7 separate regions of the Homo sapiens genome follow, and all the other regions are linked to region 2. The links are contacts of gene promoters, found by promoter capture Hi-C in blood cells and fetal thymus (Javierre and others, 2016). All regions are on one chromosome and are shown on one strand. The core of a region is centred on a gene start or on the middle of the fragment in contact, and the rest is flanking DNA. Distances in the headings are between cores, read along the strand shown. Region 1 holds the start of SNORD14D (small nucleolar RNA, C/D box 14D). Region 2 holds the start of CRTAM (cytotoxic and regulatory T cell molecule). Region 3 has its middle 17 kb from the start of SNORD14E. Region 4 has its middle 23 kb from the start of TRK-TTT2-1. Region 5 has its middle 40 kb from the start of TRK-TTT2-1. Region 6 has its middle 37 kb from the start of UBASH3B. Region 7 overlaps CLMP (CXADR like cell adhesion molecule).

Evidence for each region. The method cuts DNA at HindIII sites, captures the fragments that hold promoters and counts their contacts. A CHiCAGO score of 5 or more calls a contact.
Region 1: a contact is called between a fragment that was not itself captured here and the fragment with the promoter of CRTAM in region 2, in 2 of 17 cell types (total CD8 T cells and naive CD8 T cells). The highest score is 15.8, in total CD8 T cells.
Region 3: a fragment that was not itself captured here is called in contact with the fragment with the promoter of CRTAM in region 2 in 1 of 17 cell types (naive CD8 T cells); the score reaches 5.5 in naive CD8 T cells.
Region 4: a fragment that was not itself captured here is called in contact with the fragment with the promoter of CRTAM in region 2 in 3 of 17 cell types (naive CD4 T cells, fetal thymus and total CD4 T cells); the score reaches 5.7 in naive CD4 T cells.
Region 5: a contact is called between a fragment that was not itself captured here and the fragment with the promoter of CRTAM in region 2, in 6 of 17 cell types (megakaryocytes, activated CD4 T cells, erythroblasts and 3 more). The highest score is 7.5, in megakaryocytes.
Region 6: a contact is called between a fragment that was not itself captured here and the fragment with the promoter of CRTAM in region 2, in 2 of 17 cell types (megakaryocytes and endothelial precursors). The highest score is 11.4, in megakaryocytes.
Region 7: a fragment that was not itself captured here is called in contact with the fragment with the promoter of CRTAM in region 2 in 2 of 17 cell types (total CD8 T cells and naive CD8 T cells); the score reaches 11.2 in total CD8 T cells.

The regions. Positions count from the first base shown.
Region 1 is chr11:123,058,148-123,060,847 of GRCh38, forward strand. It overlaps HSPA8 (heat shock protein family A (Hsp70) member 8), which reads right to left. Exons shown (of 9, transcript NM_006597.6): 3 at 2,446-2,651; 4 at 1,969-2,121; 5 at 1,326-1,881; 6 at 912-1,114; 7 at 485-683; 8 at 105-337. SNORD14D (small nucleolar RNA, C/D box 14D) reads right to left here and starts at 848; the gene lies at 762-848. It overlaps SNORD14C (small nucleolar RNA, C/D box 14C), which reads right to left and starts at 1,275; the gene lies at 1,188-1,275. It overlaps SNORD14E (small nucleolar RNA, C/D box 14E), which reads right to left and starts at 9; the gene lies at 1-9. The HindIII fragment of the contact is 172 bases long and covers 1,228-1,399 here.
Region 2 is chr11:122,836,758-122,839,862 of GRCh38, forward strand. It overlaps CRTAM (cytotoxic and regulatory T cell molecule), which reads left to right and starts at 1,743. Exons shown (of 10, transcript NM_019604.4): 1 at 1,743-1,835. The coding sequence starts at 1,790. The HindIII fragment of the contact is 4,925 bases long and covers 1-2,100 here.
Region 3 is chr11:123,039,529-123,042,512 of GRCh38, forward strand. No RefSeq gene overlaps it. Among named protein-coding and RNA genes, the nearest start is that of SNORD14E, 17 kb to the right of the region's middle. The HindIII fragment of the contact is 6,954 bases long and covers 1-2,984 here.
Region 4 is chr11:122,580,960-122,584,114 of GRCh38, forward strand. No RefSeq gene overlaps it. Among named protein-coding and RNA genes, the nearest start is that of TRK-TTT2-1, 23 kb to the left of the region's middle. The HindIII fragment of the contact is 6,967 bases long and covers 1-3,155 here.
Region 5 is chr11:122,597,976-122,601,307 of GRCh38, forward strand. No RefSeq gene overlaps it. Among named protein-coding and RNA genes, the nearest start is that of TRK-TTT2-1, 40 kb to the left of the region's middle. The HindIII fragment of the contact is 2,966 bases long and covers 352-3,317 here.
Region 6 is chr11:122,616,730-122,620,031 of GRCh38, forward strand. No RefSeq gene overlaps it. Among named protein-coding and RNA genes, the nearest start is that of UBASH3B, 37 kb to the right of the region's middle. RefSeq lists an enhancer at 1,803-2,303. The HindIII fragment of the contact is 3,297 bases long and covers 201-3,302 here.
Region 7 is chr11:123,085,363-123,088,703 of GRCh38, forward strand. All of the region lies in intron 2 of CLMP (CXADR like cell adhesion molecule), which reads right to left. Among named protein-coding and RNA genes, the nearest start is that of HSPA8, 25 kb to the left of the region's middle. The HindIII fragment of the contact is 2,767 bases long and covers 254-3,020 here.

The sequences.
Region 1 (2,700 bases), core at 64-2,563, 220 kb after region 2:
ATTCATCATTGTGACCCTACACTGAAATCCAGCTCAAGCTTGGTTTACCATCCCCTTCCCCTCCATTGAGTGGGGGAGGAAAAAAAAAAAAAAAAAACACAAACCTGATTCTTATCAAGCCAGTTGATAATTTCATTACACTTGTCCAGAATCTTCTGTTTGTCCTCATCGTTAATCTTGCCTTGAAGTTTCTCATCTTCAACAGTTGCTTTCATGTTGAAGGCATAGGACTCAAGTGAATTCTTGGATGACACCTTGTCCCTCTGCTTCTCATCTTCAGCTTTGTACTTCTCAGCTTCCTGGACCATACGTTCAATGTCTTCCTTGCTCAAACGGCCTAGGAAAGAAATTAACTCTAAGTAAAAGCCTTAAATTACCTGTGTATGTGTAACTCTAGTTTCTCTTAGCTAGACGCCCTTAGGCACCAGTAACTCAATTGAAATACCATTATCCCTGTCAAGACCAGATGACAGTGCCTCCTTACCCTTGTCATTAGTGATAGTAATCTTGTTCTCTTTTCCCGTACTCTTGTCCACAGCAGAGACATTGAGTATACCATTGGCATCAATGTCAAAAGTGACTTCAATCTGAGGAACACCTCGGGGTGCAGGAGGTATGCCTGTGAGTTCAAACTTGCCAAGCAGGTTGTTATCCTTTGTCATGGCACGCTCGCCTTCATAAACCTTGGTAGGAAATAAAACAAATTACTACAATGGACTCCAGGTCTGTGACAGTGCTAGGGTCCTGCTAAGGAAGAATGGTCGCTCAAACATCCAAGGAAGGAACTGGCCAACATAAGACTTTCTGGTGGAAACTACGAATGGTTTTGGAATCCATCATCATAGCGAGTCAGTCAAGACTTCCCTTTATCTGTTATCAGTAAGCCAAACAAGAGAAGTACAGAAACATACCTGAATAAGCACACCAGGCTGGTTGTCAGAATAGGTAGTGAAGGTCTGTGTCTGCTTGGTAGGAATGGTGGTATTACGCTTGATGAGGACAGTCATGACTCCACCAGCAGTTTCAATACCAAGGGAAAGAGGAGTGACATCCAAGAGCAGCAAATCTTGAACATTCTCAGACTTGTCTCCAGACAAGATGGCTGCCTGGACAGCTAGCAAACAAAAAGTTAACGTTAAAAGAAGTTAAAAGAAAACCCAGTACATAGCTCCTGTTTTAACTATCACTCGCTCAGACATCCAAGGAAGGTGTTGCCATCATTAGCCAAGCTTTTGGTGGAAACTACGAATGTTTAACAATCACTCATCACAGCGAGTCACCTTGGGCCTGCCTGCCTTTAGGGTTAATTGAGATACCATTGTTACCTGCACCATAAGCAACAGCTTCATCAGGGTTGATGCTCTTATTCAGTTCTTTTCCATTGAAGAAGTCTTGGAGAAGCTTCTGAATCTTGGGGATACGAGTAGAACCACCAACCAGGACAATATCATGAATCTGTGACTTGTCTAGTTTGGCATCTCGAAGGGCTTTCTCTACTGGGTCCAGGGTGCCACGGAACAGGTCAGCATTCAGTTCTTCAAATCGGGCACGGGTAATGGAGGTATAGAAGTCGATTCCTTCATAGAGAGAATCGATCTCAATACTGGCCTGGGTGCTGGAAGAGAGGGTACGCTTAGCACGTTCACAAGCAGTACGGAGGCGTCTTACAGCTCTCTTGTTCTCACTGATGTCCTTCTTATGCTTGCGCTTAAACTCAGCAATAAAATGGTTGACCATTCGGTTGTCAAAATCTTCTCCACCCAAGTGGGTGTCTCCAGCTGTAGACTTGACCTCAAAGATTCCATCCTCAATAGTGAGGATTGACACATCAAAAGTGCCACCTCCCAGGTCAAAGATGAGCACGTTTCTTTCTGCTCCAACCTGCCGTTAAAAACAATCTCATTTAAATTTACGATGGATCAAATTAATCTTAAAATAATCCGAACTTGCATCACAAATGGTACATACCTTTTTGTCTAAGCCGTAAGCAATAGCAGCAGCAGTTGGCTCATTAATAATTCTAAGTACATTGAGACCAGCAATAGTTCCAGCATCTTTGGTAGCCTGACGCTGAGAGTCATTAAAGTAAGCTGGCACTGTGACCACAGCATTGGTAACAGTCTAGGAATAAGGAAAAGACCACAGATTGGTAACTATTATACTTACATATATGCAAACTCCAGCAAATGGATTAATGCTGGTGAAAGAACAGCTGGAGCACCCCCCCCACCAAAATGTAAATTACTGTGTAATTGTCAAGATTCACTGGTTTCTGGTGTTGACAGACCCATCTACCTAGAGAGCCTAGGGCACTGTTGGGCACGTGGTCTTAACCCTGAGCTGAGCCCCATCTGTTCCCCTCCCTCGCCAGGTGCCAGTGCCCCCGGGAGTCATCGGGCTTTTAACTACTCCGGAATGCACCCCATACTGAAAAACCAACCTCACCTTCCCAAGGTAGGCTTCTGCAATTTCCTTCATCTTTGTCAGAACCATAGAAGACACCTCCTCTGGATAGAAGCTTTTGGTCTCTCCCTTGTATTCTACTTGGACCTTGGGCCTGCCAGCATCATTCACCACCATAAAGGGCCAATGTTTCATATCAGACTGGACAACAGCATCATCAAATCTGCGTCCAATCAGACGTTTGGCATCTGTAAAAGGTGTCAAATGAAAACACTTTCAATTTCATAGCTCTTCTGA
Region 2 (3,105 bases), core at 493-2,992:
TATTGTGTTTTGGAGGATTTTTTATTTTTATTTTTTTAAGACAGGGTGTCACTTTGTCACCCAGATTGCAGTACAGTAGTGTGATCACGGCTCACCGCAGCCTCAACCTCCTGCATTCAAGCAACCCTTCCACCTCAGCCTCCCAAGTATCTGGGACTACAGGCATGCACCACCATGCTCAGCTAATTTTTGTATTTTTTGTAGAGATGGGGGTCTCACTATGTTGCCCAGGTTGGTCTTGAACTCCTGGCTTCAGATGATCCTCACACCTCAGCCTCCCAAAATGCTAAGATTACAGGCATGAGCCACTGTGCCCAGCCAACAAAATATTTGGAAGACATTTTTGATGAGTAAGACTTTTCCTACCCAAACTTCATCAAATTTATCAGAGTATTAACACTAATTTCAATTAGAGCCAGTAAGTAGTGTTTCCTTTTCATTTTCCAAGCATTGCAGACTGATCTCTGTTTTCTAAACATAAACTTACTAATATTTTACTGTGTGCTCCTGGAAAAACTACATTAAATCTATCTCAATTTGTCCAATTAATGAAAATTAAATACCAGAACTGTTCATATGTACATTGTCTCCCCCACTAGATTATATTCTCCTGAAAAACAAGGAATTTATGTTTTTTATTTGAGCATGTCTCAAAGTAGTGCATACTAGATGCTGTACAGGTGACAAGATGAATGGGTGGATAGAAGGATGGATGGATGGATGGATGGATGGATGGATGGACGGACGGACATATGTATAGATAGATGGGTGGGTAAATGGATGAATGAGTGGGTGAATGGATGAATGCGTGGGTGGATAGATAGATGGGTGGTTGGGTGGATGGATGAGTATTTGCATGTATAGATAGATGGGTGGGTGAATGAATAGGTCATGGACGGATGGATGGATGGATAGATGGATGGGTGAATGGATGGATGGGTGGATAAATGGATGGATGGATGGATGGATGGATGGATGGATGGATGGATGGATGGATGGATAGATGGATAGATGGATGGATAAATAGATGGATGGCTGGCTGGCTGGATGGATGGAGAGATGGATGGATGTGTGGATGAATAGATGGATGGATGGGTGGATGGGGAATGAGTGGGCAGGTAATACATGAGTGAGTGGGTGGATGGAAGGATAAATGGATGGGTGGATGGATGTGTGGGTGGATGGATGGAAGGATGGATGGATGGATAGGTGGATGAATAGATTTGTATTTGTGAGTGGGTGGATGAAAAGATGGGTGGATGGGTGGGTGGACAGATATATAGATTTCAAAAATGAGTATATCTATATGAATGAATGAATTCCTCCCCGACAACAATTATAAATTGATGTCAGCATAGAAATAAAATATTCCCAAAGGTTGAGCAAAAATTATCTAATTGTATTTATCTAATAAACTAGAAAAGTAAAAATAAGGATGACGTCACTACACAGGGACATTTTACAGTATTTCTCCCACCCATGCTCCCTCTAAAAACCTTGCAACTAGTTGATTTACCAGTACTACCCACTTGTGGTAAAACAATTTTTGTCACCAACACATCACTCACACCTCTCTGCCATCAAGATAATACATGTGGTCCCCAAAATGTTCCACCAGGAGGTGTTCTGGGGGCAGCTAACTAAGAGGGGGCTTCCAGACAGATGGAGGAGTTGATACACATGAGGTCACAGATCTACTGCCTCTCCCCCTTTAAAAGAAACTACTCAGCTCCATTTGTCTCAGAATCTAGAGGAAGTTGACAAAGGTGCCACAGCAGCACAGCACAGTATGTGGTGGAGAGTTCTCAGCTTGCTGGCATGGTTCCCCTTGCAAGGTAAGGACTTAGAGTTATTTTTGTTGTTGCTCAGCTGACTTAATGTTTTGCCACATCTACCTATCAGTCAGTCAACTGCATTTACAGAGGAGCTGCTGTAGAAGACAACCCAGGTAACTGCTAATACTTTCCAAGCCATGCTCAAATCATGCATCTGAGGGATGTTACTGCGTTTATTTGATCTCTCGTTCAATGGCTAAGGAGTATAGAAAGGATCATTATAGTGTGTGTCTCTGTGGGTCCTATGTTACGGCAAGATGAAACAAGCTTATTAGGCTCTGTCTTTTAAGGGCATACCAGTTGAAAGAGCATCCGTATTGAATTTTATTTTATTTTATTTATTTATTTATTTATGAGACACAGTCTCGCTCTGTCGCCCAGGCTGGAGTGCAGCGGCACGACCTCGGCTCACTGCAAGCTCCGCCTCCCGGGTTCACGCCTTTCTCCTGCCTCAGCCTCCCAAGTAGCTGGGACTACAGGTGCCCGCCACCACCACGCCCGGCTAATTTTTTTATATTTTTAGTAGAGACGGGGTTTCACCGTGTTAGCCAGGATGGTCTCAATCTCCTGACCTCGTGATCTGCCCACCTCAGCCTCCCAAAGTGCTGGGATTACAGGCGTAAGCCACCGCGCCCGGCCTCCACGTTGAATTTTAAAATTTCCTTGCTGTATAAATCTTAGCCAAACGATTTAATCTCTTTGAAACTCAGTTTCTGCATCTTAAAATGAAAATGATAAAAACTTTTGATCCACCAAACTCCCTGGATTGTTAGAAGGATCAAATTTCAAATGTGAAAGCACTTTGAAAATGATAAAGCGCTGTGCAACACTTATTTAGCTCAGAGGTAATAATGAGACCAATGAAAACTTCGTGTTTATTTTTAAAGAGTAAGTTATACTTTACATTTTACTATAATTTTCAAATTTGGATTTTAGTGCTTAATCCTAATGTAGCATTATGAAAATTAAGGATAGAAGCAGTTACCTTTTTGGAGCAGGTCAAATTATTTTCTACCCAAAAGTGGGGGCAGGGGTGTAGGAAGTGGCTCCTGTTGTCCCTCAGTCTCTGCTTACAATTGTATCAGATTCATGCAAAGGACATCCCTCACAAATCCACTCAAAAATTTTGCTTTTTGTGTGTTTGTTACCAAATATTGAAACTGTAGTTCTGTTTCATGAAATGCACCTATCCTTCTAAATCTACATTTAATCTGGAATGGCATCTGAAGGACGCTACTTTAAAAAACTCGATTTCCTATTTTACATAGTA
Region 3 (2,984 bases), core at 469-2,968, 200 kb after region 2:
AGAATCACTTGAACCTTGGAGGCAGAGGTTGCAGTGAGGGGAGATCATGCCACTGCATTCCAGCCTGGGCGACAGAGCGAGACTCTGTCTCAAAAAAAAAAAAAAAAGAAAAAGAAAAAAAAAAGAAATTCACCAAATGCGTCACCGTATCCGGGGGTCAGAAAGCATAAGGACACCCAGGAATGAAGTCATTTGCCCAAGGTCACCATGCCACATGGCTACTTCGAAGCAGACCTTATAAATCTCCACAGTGTGGGTGCCCTGGAAGTCTCTCGTGCCCTAAGTGTTTAGATGATACCTGACTGAGCATAAGTCCTGGGGAGAAAGATTCAATCAAAGTTCCAAATCTGATTCTATTCCAGCCAGAGCTGAGTGAGTGTCTGTCTCTCCTTTTCCCTGGGCCTGTCACAATCTCAACAAATAGGCTTTTAAATTAAGTAGTGATTTGGAATGTAAGTGAGTGCATTTAAGATGATAAGAGACGGAGAGATCCTAATGGCTGAAATATTTGTCATATCACAAGTAAACGGAGTGTTTCGGGGAGTCACTAATATAACTAATTTTTTCCAAATCCTCCTCTGCTCTGTGTGGGAAGATGAGGTCAGTGCAGGTTGAGCCAGCCCGGAGTGAGCAGCTGCCAGGGGACTGAAGAGAATACTGATGGATGGCTGAGGCGCCCGGACAGTTCGCCTCAGGAAACCAGAGCCCACTTGTTCAAATTAAGCTATGGATGCCCAACAACCGGTGGCAGGCTGCCACGAATGAAAAGGTGGGGAAATGAATGCACAGCCCAGCCCGCCTCCCCCGGAGAGTGGAGCTGTGCTGTCGGTTTGGGCTTGGCCCCTATGCTGGGGGGTGTCTGAAAGGAAGCTGGAAGTAATCTAACGCAGCTCCCTCCTCCTCGCACCCTGACACCCCATTCTTGAATATCCTCTGCAGCAAGCCCAAATCATTTTAGTCAGACCTCTTGTTGGTGGCTCCTGGAGCCTGGTATCTCACTACCTCCGTGGCAGCCCACTTTCCTTGGCAGATCCCAGAGGTATATTCGGCACTCACTGTCCAAAATGAATAGCCCCCTCAGTTAGGCTTGGTGTCTCGAGTGTTTAGGCTTACAGCCAAAACCCAAGTTCCAGTCTTTTATTTATTTATTTATAAATTTTAAGTTGTCTATTATTTATTTATTTATTATTTTTATATTTATTTATTTTTGAGAAGGAGTCTCACTCTGTCGCCCAGCCTGGAGTGCAATGGTGCGATCTCGGCTCACTGCAACCTCCGCCTCCCGATCAAGTTCCACTACCACATTTGCTCTGCAGCCTTCAGGCAGAAACAATACCTTTGCTGAGACGCCTTCTTCGTTTGTAAAAATGGGAATGACATTTGCACCATGGCTTTTCACAATGGCAAGTGCTGGTGGAAAGAGAGAACTGGTCATTTCACCTGAACCTCACATTAATTTGGGGCCTTAAGTTTAGATTTTGACATTATCTTAAAATAAATACACATTCAGGCCAAGCACGGTGGCTCACACCTGTAATCCCAGTACTTTGGGAGGTCAAAGTTCCCAAAATCCTCCCATGTTTGGGAGGCTGGTCAGAAGTTCAAGATCAGCCTGGCCAAACATGGTGAAATTGTCTCTACTAAAAATACAAAAAATTAGCCGGGTGTGGTGGCACGCGCTTGTAATCCCAGTTACTCAGGAGGCTGAGGCACACGAATCGCTTGAACCCGGGAGGTGGACTTGCAGTGAGCCGAGATTGTGCCATTGCACTCTAGCCTGGGCGATAAGGTGAGACTGTCTCTCTCACACACACACACACACACACACACGCACACACACACACACACGCACACACACACACACACACACTCAGCCAAAGAGAAATACTGATAAGACTAAAAGGAAATGATCACCCAGGAGCAGTGGCTCATGCCTATAATCCAAGCACTTTGGGAGGCTGAGACCAGTGGCTTGCTTGGGCCCAAGAGTTCCAGACCAACCTAAGCCACATGTCAAAACCCCATCTCAATTAAAAAAAAAAATAGGAGATGTTCCTCGTTGGAAATGTATGAGTCATTTTTGGGCCACCCCTTCTGCAGCACACACTAATGGGATTTTTAAAATACATTTTTGTCTAGGACGAGTATTTAGCATTGCATTTTTTAGGTAGTTTGTTTGTTTGTTTTAAGACAGCGTCTCACTCTGTCATCCAGGCTGGAGTGCAGTGGTACAATCACAGCTCACTGTGGCCTTGACCTCCTGGGCTCAAGCCATCCTTTCACCTCAGCCTCCCGAGTAGCTGGGACTACAGGCACATGCCACCACATTTGGCTAATTTTTTAAACTTTTTGTAGAGATGGGCTCCCACTATGTTGAACTCCTGGGCTCAAGTGATCCTCCTGCCTGGGCCTCTCAAAATGCTGGGATTACAGGCAGGAGACACCATACTTGGCCAGCATTGCGTTTTTGTTTACTTTTTAAAAATTTTTTTGTAGAGATGGGATCTGGTTTTCTGCCCAGGCTGGTCTCAAACTCCTGACTTCAAGTGATCCTCCTGCCTCTTCCTCCTAAATTGCTGAGATTACAGGCATGGACCACCATACCTGGCCAGCATTGCATTTTTTTTTTTTTGAGATGGAGTCTCGCTCTGTCACCCAGACTGGAGTGCAGTGGCCAGATCTTGGCCTCCCCCCGGTTCACGCCACTGTCCTGCCTCAGCCTCTCGAGTAGCTGGGACCACAGGCGCCCACCACCACGCCCGGCTAATTTTTTGTATTTTTAGTAGAGACAGGGTTTTACCGTGTTAGCCAGGATGGTCTCGATCGCCTGACCTCGTGATCTGCCCGCCTCGGCCTCCCAAAGTGCTGGGATTACAGGTGTGAGCCACCACGCCCAGCCCAGCATTGCATTTTAAAAAGCATTCACTCTTCAGAGAAATGTGAGAAAAAAAGAAAGAAAAATAAATAAGTAAATAAAATAAAAG
Region 4 (3,155 bases), core at 627-3,126, 260 kb before region 2:
GGTACAGAAAGTCAATGTGTGGAAAGAAGACGGAACTGATCGGAAATGTTTATTCCTCTCCTAAATCACCACTGACAACGACAACCACACACACACACACACACACACACACACACACACACACACACAGCTGACGCTCAGAATGCGTAGGGACAGAGACACAGGGAGCAGGACAGGAAGCAAAGGGTAGTTATATATGGCCGAGAGGAACATGGTTCCTTAGTAAGTCTGGAAAATACAGTATTGCCACTCAGGAAAAACAAAGAGGCGCGCCATACTGCCACCCAGTGGTGTGAACTGTTTCTTTCCAGACTTAATGCAAACAAAACCCTTCTTTTTATGCTTCTGATGGTGGCTGAGATCTTCCTCTCAAAGAACTACATTACACAGTACTGCTTGCTCCTACCAGTACCTGACACGGGTGTCAGGCCCAACCACGTGCTCGGTGTATTCATAGACCTTAGTCACGGAAGCACAGTCTTGTCCGGATGCACAGCATGTGAGCACTTGCTCTCCAAACTTACCATCTTCCAGCTCCGGTTAATACAGCAGACCATTCATGCGTCTAGGAACCAAAGAATTACCCTAGGGCCCTGCTATTATTTGGGCAAGAGACTCATAATGACCTTACTTGACTGGCTGCATAAAAAGTCCCAAATCTTCCTGCCATTCCTTTCTCGTCTTGGCCTCTGGGCCGGGAGCACAAAGCCTAGGAAAGGACCCAGGGACAGAAAAAGGAAATATCGAGGTACTGTTTTCCCCCTACCTCCTCAGCTTGGCCTAAGGAAATTTTCAGAGTAACTGAGCTAAGCTCCAGCATCCTCTTCTCTTCTGATATGGTTAGACTTTGTGTCCCCAACCAAATCTCATCTTTTTTTTTTTCTTTTCAGCCACTCAGAGAGATATGTATAACCTCTCTCTTTTTTTTATTTTTATTTTACTTTAAGTTCTGGGATACATGTGCAGAACATGCAGGTTTGTTACATAGGTATACATGTGCCATGGTGGTTTGCTGCACCTATCAATCCATCATCTAGGTTTTAAGCCCCGCATGCATTAGGTATTTGTCCTAATGCTCTCCCTCCCCTTGCCCCCCACCTCCTGACAGCCATGGGTGTGTGATGTTCCCCTCCTTGTGTCCATGTATTCTCATTGTTCAGCTCCCACGTATGAGTCAGAAGATGCCCTGTTTGGTTTTCTGTTCCTGTGTTAGTTTGCTGAGAATGATGGTTTCCAGCTTCATTCATGCCCCTGCAAAGGATATGAACTCATTCTTTTTTAAGGCTGTATAGTATTCCATGGTATATATGTGCCACATTTTCTTTATCCAGTCTATCATTGATGGACATTTGGGTTGGTTCCAAGTCTTTGCTATTGCAAATAGTGCTGCAATAAACATACATGTGCATGTGTCTTTATAGTAGAATGATATATAATCCTTTGGGTATATACCCAGTAGTGGGATTGCTGGATCAAAGGGTATTCCTTGTTCCAGACCCTTGAGGAATTGCCACACTGTCTTCCACAATGGTTGAACTAATTTACACTCCCACCAACAGTGTAAAAGCATTTTTGTATCTCCATATCCTCACCAGCATCTGTTGTTTTCTGACTTTTTAATGATCACCATTCTAACTGGCATGAGATGGTATCTCATTGTGGTTTTAATTTACATTTCTCAAATGACCAGTGATGATGAGCTTTTTTTCATATGTTCGTTGGCCGCATAAATGTCTTCTTTTGAGAATTGTCTATTTATATCTTTGCCCACTTTTTGATAGGGTTGTTTGTTTTTTTCTTGTAAATTTGTTTAAGTTCCTTGTAGATTCTGGATATTAGACCTTTGTCAGATGGATAGATTGCAAAAATTTTCTTCCATTCTCTAGGTTGCCTGTTCACTCTGATAATAGTTTCTTTTGCTGTACAGAAGGTCTTTAGTTATATTAGATCCCATATGTCAATTTTGGCTTCTGTTCCAATTGCTTTTGGTGTTTTTGTCATGAAGTCTTTGCCCATGCCTATGTCCTGAATGGTATTGCCTAGGTTTTCTTCTAGGGTTTTTATGGTTTTAGGTTTTACATTTTAGTCTTTAATCCATCTTGAGTTAACTTTTGTATAAGGTGTAAGGAAGGGGTCCAGTTTCAGTTTTCTGCATATAGCTAGCCAGTTTTCCCAGCACCATTTATTAAATAGGTGCTGGGAAAACACCTATTAAATTATTTCACCATTGCTTGTTTTTGTCAGGTTTGTCAAAGATCAGATGGTTGTAGATGTGTGGTGTTATTTCTGAGGCTTCTATTCTATTCCATTGATGTATATATCTGTTTTGGTACCAGTACCATGCTGTTTTGGTTACTATAGCCTTGTAGTATAGTTTGAAGTCAGGTAGGGTGATGCCTCCAGCTTTGTTCTTTTTGCTTAGGATTGTCTTGGCTATTTGGGCTCTTTTTTGGTTCCATATGAAATGTAAAGTAGTTTTTTCTAATTCTGTGAAAAAAAAAGTCAATGGTAGCTTGATGAGAATAGCAATGAATCTATAAATTACTTTGGGATGTATGGTAATTTTCATGATACTGATTCTTCTTATCCATGAGCATGGAATGGTTTTCCATTTGTTTGTGTCCTCTCTTATTTCTTTGAGCAGTGGTTTGTAGTTCTCCTTGAAGAGGTCCTTCACGTCCCTTGTAAGTTGTATTCCTAGGTATTTTATTCTCTTTGTAGCAATTGTGAATGGGAGTTCACTCATACCAAATCTCATCTTGAATTGTAGTCCCCATGATTCTTACATGTCAAGGGAGAGACCACGTGGAGGTAATTGGATCATGGGGGCAGTTTCCCCCATGCTGTTCTTGTGATAGTGAGTTCTCATGAGATCTGATGTCTTTGTCAGTGTTTGGTAGTTCCTCCTGCACTCATTCTCCTTCCTGCCGCCTTGTGAAGAAGGTGCCTTGCTTCCCTTTCCCTTCCACCATGATTGTAAGTTTCCTGAGGCCTCCCCAGCCATGCTGAACTATGAGTCAGTTAAACCTCTTTGCTTTATAAATTACCCAGTCTCAGGCAGTTCTTTATCAGTGTGAAAATGGTCTAATACACCTTCCTCTTGTGTTTTTCTTCTGCTTCCCAGAGCACCTCTCTTCTAAACTGGGGAATTTGAC
Region 5 (3,332 bases), core at 585-3,084, 240 kb before region 2:
ACTGCAATCTCTGCCTCCTGTGTTCAAGCGATTCTCCTGCCTCAACCTCCCGAGTAGCTGGGATTACCACCATGTCTGGTTAATTTTTGTATTTTTAGTAGAGACGGGGTTTCACCATATTGTCCAGGCTGGTCTCGAACTCCTGACCTCAGGTAATCCGCCCGCCTCAGCCTCCCAAAGTGCTAGGATTACAGGTGTGAGCCACCGCACCTGGCCACATTTTTCTTTCTTTCGAAGGAACAGTATTAGCCCATAAAAACATAAGCAGTGTTAGCACAGAAAAAATCATAGCTAGACTACTGGCCTCCTGTGCCTTGTTTTTATGTTTGAGAAACTCACAATGATACACCAAGCTTAGTCAAAATAGCTCCACTGTGATTTGTTTAAAAGGAAAATGTTTGGAAGCTCAGCTGAAGACCATGGGAATGCATGGAAACTTGTGGAGGGGAACCACTGCAGGTTTGCAGGGAACGGGGTTGGTGGTGAACTCCACCTACCCATGGAACAAGAACTGCTTACAGTGGTCACACACCAAGTGCCCACTTAGAGCAAGACCCTCTAAAGCACTTTACATTGAGTGTTTCTAATGGTCACTACACACCCCCAATATGAAGGGTGTATTGTTATCCTCATTTTTCATATTAAAAAATAGGCCAGGCGCAGTGGCTCATGTCTGTAATCCCAGCACCTTGGGAGGCCGAGGCGGGTGGATCATCTGAGGTCAGGAGTTCAAGACCAGCCTGGCCAACATAGTGAAACCCCATCTCTACTAAAAATACAAAAAATTAGCAGGGTGTGGTGGCAGGCACCTGTAATCCCAGCTCCTTGGGAGGCTGAGGCTGGAGAATCGCTTGAACCAGGGAGGTGGAGGTTGCAGTGAGCCCAGATCAAGCCATTGCACTCCAGCTTGGGCAGCAAGAGTGAAACTCCACCTCAAAAAAAAAAAAAAAGCTGGAGCTTAGAGAAGATTAGCAACCCAGCCAAGTTTATTTACAAGTAAGCTGGAAAACCAGCATTCATTCACTGAACAAATGTGGAGTCAGCACCTACAGCATAGTAGGTGCCGGAGAGTCAGTGGAGAATGAACGAGAACAGCAATATCCACACTCATGGGGCTTATAGCCCAGGAAGGACACAGAGAAGGGAACAGCCACACTGGAGTTTGGGAAGCGCTGTGCTGGTGGAGGCACAGTGTCTGTGAGTCATAGGGGAACAACCAACCCAGACATGGGGGTTGTCTGCTTGGCTTCACAGCCTCCCATTCTTATTGACACTGAACCTTTCAGGAAGAAAGCCAGTGTGACCTCAGATAATCTCCCCAGAGCACCTAATAACCTTCTCTCTGAGCCTCTCTGCAGAAGAGCTTCAAGTTCAAGTTGTATAAGCCTTCAAGTAGAAAGAAGCAATTTTGTCTCTAGGTTTGGGCAACACAAGTACCTGGGGAAGGGCATAGTTAAGCACACTGAATGCTTAAACTTTTATTTGTCTACTAATAAGTTGATAAATTGCACCTGGCATATAAATTTCACTTGGGGAACTCATGCAATGTGGCAGAAGGATTCCCTTCTCTTAATTACAAAGAATGAGTCCTCCAGCACAGAAACATCCCCCAGGAGATGCCCACAGTGTAGCAATGGATATTTTTACCTCTCCACACCCACATTCCACCATATTTCTCAGGGATGCTGTTCCCCTCCTGATCCCTCCCACCACCTTCTATGGCATCACATGTCCTTTAGCTGAGAAGGCAAATGCACCCTTTTACAACAAACCCCTGTGAAGTTCTCCCCTTCCTTTTTCCCTCCCTAAGTTTCCCCCCATGACCCCCTCCTCTTTTATGTCTTCCCTAATCCTAACCACCTTCCTCATTCTGCTTTCCCTGGCTTGTACTTTTTGTAGCTTTTTTTTTTTTTCTCTTTTTCATCATCTTCAATAAAATCAATCCAAAGGGGAGGTAAAAGACAGGCTGAAGATACCATTCTGCTTCGCTTATGAACAAGGGGCCTGTCTTCCGTCTCAATGAATCACAAACTTGCTGCACACTGAAATCACCTTGATCTTTAGGAAACCCTGGTCCTGACTCCCACCCCAGACTTTCTGGTCTGATGGGAAGGGGTGCAGCCCGGACATCAGGAATTCGAAAAGGTCCCAGGGTGATTCTAATGTGCACCAAATCTGGGGGGCTGCTATGCAGTTCTGCTTCTCACATGGGCACCCACATTAGATGTGGCCTTCTGAATGGCAGACCTGGGCATTTGGGGTCAATGGAGGTCCATTTTTAAGATTCACAGCCAGGCTGATCCCTTCAGAACAGAGCCCTTGTCCCTTTTGCCAGTCTCTAATTCAGACTGTCATCCTGCAGAGAATATAAAAACAAGCACGGTTAAGTAAAAGCTAGAAAGAGCCCTGAGCTGCTCAGCAAAAAAAAAAAAAAAAAAAAAAAAAAAAGACCTTAACTAATGATTACATTAGTCTGTCAAGCACAATCTTGAAGCCAATTTATTATATATACAGGAGATGTCAACTTCAGTCAAAACTCTATCATTCTCTGTAACAGCTCCTCTTCTGGAAGGCAGAAGTGGAATCTATACTCTAAAAGTGATCTAGCTGGAGCCCAGGAAGGTGGAAGCCTTGTCCTAGGGTCATACGGTCAGTTTATGGTGGACCCAAACCAAGGAGAATTCAGGTGATCTATGAAAATGGTCAGAGCCAAGCATGGTGGTTCATACCTATAATCCCAGAACTTTGAAAGGCCAAGGCGGGAGGAGTTTGAGACCAGCCTGGGCAACATGATGAGATGCCGTCTCTACAAAAAAATAAAATAAACAAAAACTAGCTGGGCCTAGTGGCATGTGTCTGTAGTCCTAGCTACTCAGGAGACTGAGGCAGGAGGATCACTTGAGCCTGGGAGGTCAAGGTTGCAGTGAGCTATGATTGTGTCACTGTACTCCAGCCTGGGTGACATAGCAAGACCTGGTCTCAAAAAAAAAAAGAGAGAAAAAAGAAAAAAGAAGGAAGGAAGGAAGGAAGGAAAGAGGCAGGGAGGAAGGGAAGGCAGGCAGGCAGGAAGGAAGGAAGAAAAGGACTTAGGCAAATCAAAATTGACATCAAATTCTACTGACATTATTAGTATCATATTAATAAATCACTACTATCACTAATTTTACAGTCATAACTTCATTTGGCTCTAATACTACCCATAAACAAGAAAATGATGATGACTTCTAGACAGCATCTCTCCATGCTTGTATTAACCTCCTCCATCTCTACCATGGTCCCTGGAGTATCTGACTGGGTTTCCTGATGATGATACCACAAGCTTTTTGCTGAAA
Region 6 (3,302 bases), core at 599-3,098, 220 kb before region 2:
TCGCACGTTAGAACAATAAGCCCCATTTTCTCCTTCCATCTTACATTGAGACTGAGACTTCCCAGGAGAGCCTTGGACCTCTAGTGGCTTTCACTATAAACTTGGGGGCAGCACGTTGCTGTGTGGAAGATGCCTCCTCTCTGAGGACTCCTCTCATGAGCCCTTCCTCCTCCTGCCAGCATTTCCTGGACTCCAGCATAAGCTTCCTGTTTCTGTCCCCCTTGGTTCCTTAATGTGGCTGAGCATAGCCAAGTACTTGGCTCTGTCTCGGGATTCTCAGGAATTCCATCAGCCTGGTGGGGTTCCTTTTTCCCTGCTCCTGGAGGCAAATTATATGCAACAAAACCTAGAACTAGTCTTGTGGATTTTCTTTGGTGGAGGAGCATAGACCAATGGTTCCATGTCCAGCCTCCAGAATCAGACAGAACTGGGGTCACACCCTGGTATCACCCCTTCCTGCTGAGTCTGTCTCCCCAGCAGTGAAAGGAGGGTAATATTCCTCCTACAGAGGGTGGGGTGGTGGGGAGTTTACATGAGGCGGGTGCGTGTCTGTACAAACGTGTTTATCATTGCCAGCCACTTTTTTTTTTAATAGACACGGGGTCTCACTGTGTTGTCCAGGCCAGTTTTGAACTCCTGAACTCAAGTGATTCTCCTGCCTCGGCCTCCCAAAGTGCTAGGATTACAGATGTGAGCCAGCACACCTGGCCACAAGCTGCTTTCATGCAGGTGTCAGATACGCTCTCCTAACAGTGGAAGGTGGTTTGATCCTTTCTTCTCACACACACAGTCATAAATGAGTCATCAGAGTTACCCCAAAGGCAAATGGTGATATCTCCCTACAGGGAAAACTAGCACAGAACTTATGGGCCTCATTGAACTGTTAGCTGGGTTGGTTGGACAGAAAAATGTTGGTTCAATTTTCAAATACTAAGGAGCTCTTATTTCACGAGTCCCTTTTCTTACGTTGTTGAGGGGAGGCGTCAGAGCACACACTGGGAGAATAGGCCAGGGAAGCAGGCAGTGGTCACGCAGTACATCTTGCACGTGGTGGAGCATGCCGCCATCTTTGCCTTCGCCCTGGCCGACCTCTCCGTTTAATGGGGAGGTGAACTTGGACATGGACAACGACCAGGCTCCGTCAAGGGGGTTTCCTTACCAGGACTCCTTTCTCGTTTCTTTTCTCTTGCAATATGGTCATGGGGCAAAAACCCCAGAGGCCACATACTGTATTTGTGGAAAGAGAAAGAACAGGACTGTAGAGCCAAAGCTACCTCACTAGCTTTTGTGAAAGTCAGGCTGGAAAGTGCTTCCAGCCACAGAAACAGGCTGTGGGTGTAAATATTAACCGTGGCCATCAAAGAAGTGGGCATAGAGTATGACTCGCCCTCTCTTGGTCTTCCCTCAAATAGCAGGGTGAAGAACTCCTGGTCTGTGTCAGCCACGTGGCTCACAAAAACAATGACACAGAGGAGGGAATGGTGGGACTGGCCAAGGGTACGGCTGTCTTCCAGCCGTTTATCTCTGAGTGTCCTGTGTCCTGAGCAGAGCAAGGTGCAAGGCCCTGTACCGGGCACCCAGCAGAAACTTCTGAGAAACTTGACTATGAGGAAGGATGCTTGCCTAGCAATTGGTCAGATGAAGGGCTACGTTTGATACTTCCTTCAGTGTGGAAGGAAGAAATTTGTAAAAACTATTTCCAGAATATGCACACATTTAAAGTTTATAAACCTGAACTTTCCTTAGTAGAAGACACTTAACAAGAGAATACTATTGGCTCTGGGCACTAACCATTTGGGCTGTGGGACCCAGGGAATCTCTCTAGTAAGCATCATCTTTAGTGGGTGACTCCTGGTGGTCCTCCCAGCTCTGGTGGTGCCATGGGGACCTGCCTTGGAGATGCCTTGGTACTGGTACCTTTTGTGTACCAGGCCGTGAGCCTAGGGCACAGGGCCTCTGGCCTACAGATTTCAGGGAGGCAGCTGTGTCATGTGAACCAATACGGCCTGCCAACAATTCTGTCCAGAGTGACTGTCGTTGTCATCGTTAGCGTGTTGCCTGAAAAGCCTTGGGGTCTGGGGGCTGACACTGAAGCTCTTTTTTCCCTCTGGCCCTGTGATGTCCAGCATTACCCAGAACGCCATGCAGGACCAGAGCGCCACAGCCGGGACTCCCGTGATGGCTGGGGGGGCTGTGGCTCCGACAGGAGGATGAGCGAGGGCCGGGGGCTGCCTCCTCCCCCCAGGGGCAGACATGACTACTCGGGGGACCGTGGCTGAAGAGAGGATGACTGAGCATGGCAGGGCACAGCTGATGGGGGCATGATGGACAGGGATCACAAGAGATGGCAAGGTGGTGAGAGAAGCATGTCCGGTCACTCCGGGCCTGGCCACATGATGAACTGAGAAGGGATGTCAGGGCTCGGCAGCTTTGCCTCAGGCGGGGCCTCCCGGGGCCACCCCATCCCACACGGTGGTATGCAAGGCGGGTTCGGAGGCCCGAGCAGGGGGAGCAGGCCCATCAATGCCCGCTTCACTCGCCGCTACCGAGTACTTGGAATCCTGTGTCCTGTCACGTGGCAACAAGGCTATGTTCTGTTAGGAGTTATCCTAAACTGTCTAAAAATATTTTTCTTTAATCTGCTGCCATATTGTAGCTCAATACAATGTGAATTTGTTTTTCATTTTGGGTTTTCTTTTTTTTTGTAATAAATGTGTTTCTGTTCACATACCCTTTAAAAAAAAAAAAGACTTGCATCCAGAATCTATAAACTCTTACAACTCAGCAACAAAGACAAATAATCTTAGTTTGAAATGGGCAAAAATTTTGAATAGATATTTCTCCAAGGAAGGTATACAGTCAGCTGAAATTGCATTAAAAGACATGCAACAACATTACTCATCAGGGAAATGCAAATCAAAACCACTATGAGATATTTCTTCATAAGCACCAAGACAGCTATAATCAAAAAAGACACACAATAATAAGCGTTGACAAGGATATAGACAAATTGGAACCCTCATACATTACTGGTAGGAAAGTGAAGTGGTATAGCCTCTTTGAAAAATAGTTTTGCAGCTTCTTCAAAAGTTAAACGTAGAGTTACCATATGGCCCAGCAATTCCACTCTTAAGTATATACCCAAAAGCACTGAAAACCTATATCCACACAAAAACTTATTCAGGCATGTTCATTACAGCATTATTCATTATACCAAAATGCGGAAATGACTCAAAGGTTCATCAATTGATAAACTGATAAATAAAATGTGGTATATCCATACAATGAAATATTATTCAGCC
Region 7 (3,341 bases), core at 387-2,886, 250 kb after region 2:
CTCAGCCTCCTGAGTAGCTGGGATTACAGGTGTACACCACCATGCCCGGCTAACTTTTGTATTATTGGTAGAGACAGGGTTTCGCCATGTTGGCCAGGCTGGTCTTGAACTCTTGGCCTCAGGTGATCCACCCTCCTTGGCCTCCCAAAGTGCTGGGATTACAGACATGAGCCACCACGCCTGGCCTGCCTTCCATTCTATTCCTGAATAAGAAATAAGATAGCTACAAAGATAAAAAAAAAAAAAAAAAAAAAGCTTACAGTACTCCTGCACAATTTGCCCACAAGGTGACTGCTTGTGGACAAAGGACAGACAGAACTCACAGTTACCCCTCTGCACACATGAGATAAATGCATATCTGATTGCTTCCTTTGCCCTATTTCACTAAGCCGAACTAATTTTTTATGTTTTTTTTTTTTTGTTTTTTTTTTGAGATAGAGTCTCACTCTTGTCGCCCGGTCTGGAGTACAATGGTGCGATCCTGGCTCACTGCAACCTCTGTCTCCTGGGTTCAAGCAATTCTTCTGCCTCAGTCTCCTGAGTAGCTGGGATTACAGATGCATGCCACCATGACTCGCTCATTTTTGTATTTTTAGTAGAGCTGGGGTTTCTCCATGTTGGCCAGGCTGGTCTTGAACTCCTGACCTCAGATGATCTGCCTGCCTCAGCCTCCCAAAGTGCTGGGATTACAGGTGTGAGCCACTGCGCCTGGCCCTAATTTTTTATTTTAGTAGAGATGGGGTTTCACCATTCTGGCCAGGCTGGTCTCAAAGTCCTGACCTCAGGTGATCCACCCTCCTCGGCTTCCCAAAGTGCTGGGATTACAGGTGTGAGCCACTGCGCCTGGCAAATCTCTTCTTTGGTTCAAGTGATTTATAATCAAGTGAGATTAACAAGGAAAGACTATTAAACAGAGAAAAAGAAATGATTTATTTGAAATAGTATCAAGGAGAGTGTCCCAGACAAGTTGGTGGCATTTGAGCTAGGCTTTGAGAGGCAAGGAGAAAAGGCCTGGAGGGAGCATTCCAGCTACACAGAAGGGCACTAAAAAAGGCATGCAAGCATATGGGCATCTCCCAGGCACATTTCAGCTGCAGCTGTTCCAAATTGTTTCACTCAAGCCCTCAACCCTGCCTTTGATCACGTGTTGCTCCACAGCTCTTCAGAGCCTTTCCTGAGAAGGTTCTCTCAATCAGATAAAACCTATGAACTCTGACCCAGAAAAAACTCACATATTATTTTGCAGATAATTCCATGGGGTTCCTAGCACTCAAGGGAAAGCCCTCTGCTTTAGGCACAGATGGGGAAGAGCTAGGATCACAGCCCTTCTCCTGGATGTGGTACTTGTTTGTTCTAAATATTTGTGGGGGCCAGATGCGTGGTGGTTCACGCCTGTAATCCAAGCACTTTGGGAGACCAAGGCTGGTGGTTTGCTTGAGCCCAGGAGGTTGAGGCTATAGTGAGCCAAGACTGCGCCACTGTACTCCAGCCTGGGTGACAGAGTGAGACCCTGTCTCAACAAATAAAATTTAAAAAAAGAAAAAAATGTAACTGGGTGCGGTGGCTCACAACTGTAATCCCAGCATTTTGGGACGCCAAGGCAAGCAGATCACTTGAAGTCAGGAGTTTGAGACCAGCCTGGCCAACATGGTGAAACCCTGTCTCTACTAAAAAATACAAAAATTAGACAGGTGGCCTGACGTGGTGGCTCACGCCTATAATCCCAGTCCTTTGGGAGGCCGAGGTGGGCAGATCACCTGAGGTTGGGAGTTCAAGACCAGCCTGACCAACATGGTGAAACCCCGTCTCTACTAAAAATACAAAATTAGCCGGGCGTGATGGCGCATGCCTATAATCCCAGCTACTCGGGAGGCTGAGGCAGGAGAATTGCTTGAACCCGGGAGGCGGAGGTTGCAATGAGCCAAGATCACGGCATTGCACTGCAGTCTGAGCAACAAGAGCGAAACTCCGTCTCAAAAAAAAAAAGAAAGAAAGAAAAAACTAGGTGTGGTGGTGTGCGCCTGTAAACCCAGCTACTCAGGAGGCTGAGGCAGCAGAATCACTTGAACCTGGGAGGCAGAGATTGCAGTGAGTGGAGATTATGCCACTGCACTCCAGCCTGGGCAACATAACAAGATTCTGTCTCAAAAAAATAAAATGAAATAAATAAATATTTGCGGCTCGGTGCAGTGGCTCATGCCTGTAATCCCAGTACTTTGGGATGCCGAGGCGGGTGGATCACGAGGTCAAGAGATCGAGACCATCCTGGCCAATATGGTGAAACCCTGTCTCTACTAAAAATACAAAAATTAGCTGGGTGTGGTGGCATATGCCTGTAGTCCCAGCTACTAAAGAGGCTGAGGCAGAAGAATCGCTGGAACCCAGGAGGCAGAGGTTCCAGTGAGCCAAGATCATGCCACTGCACTCCAGCCTAGGGACAGAGTGAGACTCTGCCTCAAAACAAGACAAAACAAAACAGAAAAATGTTTGTAGGGTGTTGTTGGCCCCACATCCTGTTGTACTCTGTAGGGTAGGTTTCGTTTTGTTTCTTTTTTTTTTTTCTTTGAGACGGAGTTTCACTCTTTTTGCCCAGGCTGGGGTGCAATGGCATGATCTTGGCTCACCACAACCTCCGCCTCCCGGGTTCAAGTGATTCTCCTGCCTCAGCCTCCTGAGTAGCTGGGATTACAGGCATGTGCCACCAGGCCCAGCTAATTTTGTATTTTTAGAAGAGATGGGGTTTCTCCACGTTGGTCAGGCTGGTCTCGAACTCCTGACTTCAGGTGATCTGCCCGCCTCGGCCTCCCAAAGTGCTGGGATTACAGGTGTGAGCCACCATGCCCAGCTGGAAGGGTAGGTTTCTTGGCAGGTGATAGAGCTGACTTAGTAATGCAAAATTGCTGGGATAGTTGGAAAAGAAGGAAATGCGTTCACAACAGGAAAAAACTGGAAGCTGTAGAGTTTGTCTCCATTCAAAGACTGAAAGTAAGGGGGCCTTACACCTGGAGATAAGGCAGGTAAGCTTGGAACACTTACTAGGTGCTCTGTTAATGTTTCTCTTTCTTTCTGATTTGTCCATATTTCCCCCAGATGCATAATCACCTACAATGAAGTCAGTTTGTACTTTCTAGGAGAATGAAGAGAGGCAAAACCTACAAGACAGTGAAGCACTGGGTAATTTTTAGGAACTTTGGGGTTTTGTGGGCTTTGACAGGTGGGTGACCTTTTTGGCCTGAGAGCTTTGGAATTTCTTTCTTGTTTATTTTATTTATTTATTTTTGAGATGGAGTTTCACTCTTGTTGCCCAGGCTGGAGTGCAGTGGCGTAATCTCCACTCATTG